Linked DNA regions of Homo sapiens: region 1 is linked to region 2. Evidence: promoter capture Hi-C in human tissues and cell types (Jung and others, 2019). All regions are on one chromosome and are shown on one strand. The core of a region is centred on a gene start or on the middle of the fragment in contact, and the rest is flanking DNA. Distances in the headings are between cores, read along the strand shown.

Region 1 (2,700 bases), core at 6-2,505, 520 kb after region 2:
TTCGAGACCAACCTGACCAACATGGAGAAACCCCGTCTCTACTAAATTAGCCGGGCGTAGTGGCGCATGCCTGTAATCCCAGCTACTCTGGAGGCTGAGGCAGGAGAATCGCTTTAACCCGGGAGGCAGAGGTTGTGGTGAGCCGAGATCGCGCCATTGCACTCCAGCCTGGGCAACAAGAGCGGAATTCTGTCTCAAAAAAAAAAAAGAGAGAAAAGAAAAATCCTGGAAGTCAAGTAAAAATGTGTGAAGGTGTTTTATAAAATATGAAATATCTAGAATACACAAATCTATAGAAGGACTCGGGGAAAGGGGAGTGAATGCTAATAAATACAGAGGTTCTTTCTGGGGTGATGAAAATGTACTAGTACTGATTGTGGCCGCGCTAGCACAAAAATCCGTTTCATTGGCCAGACGCTATGGCCCAGGGAAAAAAAGAAGGACTAGGGGGAATGGGGAGTGAATGCTAATGAATATGCAGTTTCTTTTTGTGGTCATGAAAGTGCACTAAAATTTTCATGCTAGCACAAAAATTGAATTGTACACTTCAAATAGGTGTATTTGTGATGTGCATTCTAGCTCCATAAAACTCAAAATGTGTGAAAATTCTTTGTAACTTTACTAAAAATTGGGGGCACTCTATAGTTTACAAAACTATCCCCATCCAGGCAGGGCACGGTGGTTCACACCTGTAATCCCAGCACTCTGGGAGTCTGAGGCGGGCGGATCACCTGAGGTGAGGAGTTCAAGACCAGCCCGACCAACATTGTGAAACCCCGTCTCTACTAAAAATACAAAATTAGCCGGGCGTGGTGACGCATGCCTGTAATCCCACTTACTCGGGAGGCTGAGGCAGGAGAATCGCTTGAACCCGGGAGGCAGAGGTTGCAGTGAGCTGAGATCGCACCATTATACTCCAGCCTGGGCAACAAGAACAAAACTCCGACTCAAAAAAAAAAAAATTCTCCATCTAGTCCTCTGAGGTGAGCAGCATTTTGTTTGTTTGTTTGTTTTGTTTGTTTTGAGATGGAGTCTCGCTCTTGTTGCCTAGGCTGGAGTGCAATGATGCGATCTCAGCTCACTACAACCTCTGCCTCCCAGGTTCAAGCGATTCTCCTGCTTCAGCTTCCCGTGTAGCTGGGATTACAGGTGCGCACTACCATGCTTGGCTAATTTTTGTATTTTTAGTAGAGACAGGGTTTCACCATGTTGGCCGGGCTAGTCTCGAATTCCTGACTTCAGGTGATCCACCCACCTCAGCCTCCCAAAGTGCTGGGAGTACAAGTGTGAGCCACCGAGCCCTGCTTATTTATTTATTTATTTATTTAGAGACAGAGTCTCTGTCATCCAGGCTAGAGTGCAGTGGCACTATTTCAGCTTACTACAGCCTCCGCCTCCCAGAGCTAAAGCAATTCTCCTGCCTCAGCCTCCTGAGTAGCTGGGATTACAGGCATGTGCCACCACACCCGGCTAATTTTTGTATTTTTAGCAGGTGGCGTTTCGCCATGTTGGCCAGGCTGGTGGTGGCACAATTGGAGGGCAGAAGGGACAGTAAAAGATGCCCTAGAAGCTCAGAAGAAGGAAAGACCTCAGAAGGCTTCGACGCATGGGTGGGGCTGCTGTTGCAGCTGGACCTTCAAGGATGATAGAATCTAAACAAATGCAGTAGTAATGAAAGAGGTAAAAGATGGGAAACCATGGAAAATATACAGAGGTAATAATTAGATGAAGCCCCCACGTGGTGACTTGTGCCTGAAATCACAAGTGTGCCCAGAAACGGGGCCTCACTGTGTTGTCCAGTCTGGTCTCGAACTCCTGTTTCAAGCAATCTTCATGCCTCAGCCTCCTAAAGTGCTGGGATTACAGGAGTGAGCCACTGCATCCGGCCACCCTTCATTTTAAAAGTACATTTCTGGCCAGGTGCGGTGGCTTATGCCTGTAATCCCAGCACGTTGGGAGTCCAAGGCGGGCCAATCACTTGAGGTCAGGACTTCAAGACCAGCTTGGCCAACATGATGAAACCCCATCTGTACTAAAAATACAAAAATTAGCTGGGTGTGGTTGTGTGAACCTGTAATTCCAGCTGCTCAGGCGGCTGAGGCACGAGAATAGCTTGAACCCAGGAGACAGAGGTTGCAGCAAGCTGAGATCGCACCACTGCACTCCAGCCTGGGTGATAGAGTGAGACTCAGTCTCAAAAAAAAAAAAAAAAAAACCACATTTCTGCCCAGGCGCATTGGCTCATGTCCATAATCCAGCGCTTTGGGAGGCTAAGGTGGGTAGATCACCTGAGGTCAGGAGTTGGAGACCAGCCTAGCCAAAATGGTGAAACCCCTTCTCTACTAAATACAAAAAATTAGCTGGGCGTGGTGGCAGGTGCCTGTAATCCCAGCTACTCAGGAGGCTGAGGCAGGAGAATCGCTTAAACTGGGAAGGCGGAAGTTGCAGTGAGCTGAGATCGTGCCATTGCACTCCAGCCTGGACAACAGCGAAACTCTAAAAAAAAAAAAAAAAAATTAGCCGGGCGTGGTGGCATCCGCCTGTAATCCCAGCTACTCAGGAGGCTGAGGCAGGAGAATCACTTGAACCCAGGAGGTAGAGCTTGCAGTGAGCCAAGATCGCACCATTGCACTCCAGCCTGGGCAACAAGAGTGAAACTCCATCGCAAAAAAACATAATAGTAAGGCCGGGCGCGGTGGC
Region 2 (2,767 bases), core at 158-2,657:
ACGGCAGCCTTGCATTTCTTCATGACCGAGCTCTTCTCCGAGGCCCAGATGGTGATTTCATTACGGTCATAGCGTCTCACCAAGCCTGCTATCTGGGAGGAGGAGAAGGAGGTGAAGGGAGAGCCAGGCCTCTCTCACGCCCCCGGTGGCCGCCCTAGCCCTGCCTGCAGCACCACCTCACGGATGAGCTCTTCGTTCTTCCCTTTGATCTCTACGCTCATGGGTGTCCTTGGAAACCTCTGGAACAGGTCCTCCAGACGAACCATGCGCCGGTCTGACCCGTGAGCAAAGTGGCCTGGGGGTGGTGTGGGAAAAGGGGTCAGAGGGAAGCCAAGGCGGAGGTCCAAGGAAGGCAGGCATGGCCCAGGCAGGGCTCGAAGCCCTTGCTCTCACCTGGAGAGAAGTAAACCTCCAGCTTCTCCTTGTAGAGGGGCAGGTCCTGGGGAGGACAGGAAGGATGTCACTAGAGGCCCGCATTGGGCATGGTGACTCTCAGGGTGGGGGTTGGGGTGTCAGGGCAGGGCCCACCTCGAAGTCCAGGCTGCCCACATCCCTGTTTAGGCCCGACTGGCGGCACAGGTTCTCATCATGTGACACCACCACCACTCTGTCCCGTGTCAGCTGACAGTCGAGCTCCAGGAGGTCCGAGCGCTGGGCCATGGAGCTGTGGGGGTGAAGGTCAGCGGGGGGCAGGGGCAGGGGACTGGGATGAGGGGCATGGTGGCTGGGAGGTGGCCGGGAATGTGAGAGCGGAGTTCGTGGCGGGATGTGCAGGCCACCTCCAGGGGGCGCCAGTCACCCAGCTAGGAAGTGAATGGCGTCCCTTGCTGTGATGCAGTCCACGACCTGCACACCCTCACATGGCAGCCTGGGCAGGGGCAGATACACTCACTTCTCCATGGCCTCCATGGTGTTCTCCAGCAGCTCTCCAGATCCTGTGGGGGGCACTGGAGTGGGCCTCTGGGGCTTGGGGTCTAGGGGCCTGGCCCAACCTCATCACCCACATTCCCTCTCTGGGCTCCATCCTCCCTCTGGCCTCACCTCCCCAGCCAGCCCAGGCTGCGCCAGCATCTTCTTCCTCGTCCACACCCTGCCCTGCCACTTCGCTCTCCTTCTCTCTTGGTCCCTGCCCCGTTTCTAGCATGCCCCCTTGGACCTACCCCTCTGTGCTGTCCACTTTGGCACCTGTTCTCACCCCTACCCGGCTCACCTCCTCGGTGGGCCCCCAGGCGGATGCGGAAGGTGGGAGCCCTGGGCGTGTGCAGCAGATGAGGCCGGCGCAGGAAGAAGATGGAGAGCATGGCATAGCTGCCCAGGGCAGGGAGGGCATAGTACAGCAAAAGGCTCATGACCGTACTCCCACAGAAGCTCCTGCAGCCACACGCTCAGCCGTCCGCGGGACTGTGCTGCCTGCCTAGCCAGTGTGGGCCGGCTCTACTACTGGCCACTGCCACGCCCCTGGGACCTGCTGAGCCTGCCGCTGGGCTGGCTTGGAGCCAGGCTGCAGGGTTCGGCTGAAGCTGGGGTAGTGTCAGGAGGTGAGGCAAGTAGCCCTGGCTCTCATATCCCCAGGCCCTTCCCAGCCCCCAGCAGCCCCGTCCTGGGCTACATGAGGGGAGTAAAAACCACCCAGGACTGTCAGGACCTCTCCCTCTCACTGGTACTTGTAGCCAGCGCATCCAACATGCCTACCCCTTGCCATTTCAGAGGATCCAGGGGTGTGTAGGGTGCTCCTGAGTCACCCCGAATCACCCCCAGCCAGTTAGACAGGAAGCCATTAGCGAGAGGACAGGACAGTGACTAAGGGGAAAACTGACCCCCTTCTTTCTAGGAGTCTGGAGCTCTCCAGAGCCCCGTCCCCAGCCCTGGGCAGCTGGGAGTGAAGGGCACCAGGCCCCTGAAAGCCCAAGTCAAGTCTGTCCTCAGAGCCGCACGGGGCAGGGCGGGGGCGTCGCGAACACAGACAGAGCCAGGGTCAGCCATAGACACATCTCTATATTTATATATTAGACGGGTCAGGGAGGTGGCAGGGGCGCCGGGCTCTCCACGCCCCCCAGCTCCACTTCTGCTCACCACACACAGAAGCAGCGAGGGCACGCGAAGTGACAGCTTTGACAGGGAGGGGATTCGGCCCGGCCTGGCTCCTCAGGGATGCTAGCCCTTGAGACTAAGGAATGTTCCTTCAGGGAAACTAGGGTGGGGTTTGAATGAGATGAGGGGGGCAGGCATGGCCCTGAGTCCCTACTCAGCGCCCCCCACCCTCCACCTCTGCCCTTCAGCAGGTTGGGGCAGCCAGAACCCTTCCATTCCAGAACTGCCAGAGACTGGGACGCTGGGGAAGGTAAGGGCGCAGCAGCAGCAGCGGGAGATTGAACTGGGGCCACCTGAGGTCCCGAGGCCCCGTGGGGAGGGCGGGTGGGGAGGAGAAGGCCTTGGCCTGCCTGAAGCTGGAGGCCTCAGCAAAGGAGAGAGGTGGCCAGGCCCATGCTCCACCCCGGCCTGGGCTGCCAAGGTCCGGGCTGGGCACAGTGTCCATTTTCTAACAGTCTGGCGGGAGAGGGGCAGGCAGGAGGCAGGTCCTAAAGAGAGAAGCAGGCAGAAGAGGAGTCGTTAGCACCCCCCGGGCAGACCCACTGGAGCCCTGACCTCAACATCTCTCATTTCACCCTCACAGCTGGATAGGCTGGGTCTCAGTTTCCTTATCTGTAAATGGAGATAATAATAGTACCTAGCTTGAGGTACTGCTGTAAGATTAAAGGAATTAATA

Evidence for each region. Contacts are between HindIII fragments. The study calls those that stand out against the background at their distance.
Region 1: a fragment that was not itself captured here is called in contact with the fragment with the promoter of GDPD3 in region 2 in 1 of the 25 tissues and cell types used here (lymphoblastoid cells).

Annotation. Positions count from the first base shown.
Region 1 is chr16:30,634,967-30,637,666 of GRCh38, forward strand. No RefSeq gene overlaps it. Among named protein-coding and RNA genes, the nearest start is that of PRR14, 15 kb to the right of the region's middle. RefSeq lists an enhancer at 1-402. The HindIII fragment of the contact is 7,557 bases long and covers 1-2,700 here.
Region 2 is chr16:30,112,130-30,114,896 of GRCh38, forward strand. It overlaps GDPD3 (glycerophosphodiester phosphodiesterase domain containing 3), which reads right to left and starts at 1,408. Exons shown (of 10, transcript NM_024307.3): 1 at 1,211-1,408; 2 at 893-935; 3 at 529-664; 4 at 394-439; 5 at 177-295; 6 at 3-92. The coding sequence starts at 1,349. MAPK3 (mitogen-activated protein kinase 3) reads right to left here. Exons shown (of 9, transcript NM_002746.3): 9 at 1,976-2,579. RefSeq lists a silencer at 1,379-1,673. The HindIII fragment of the contact is 6,526 bases long and covers 1-2,767 here.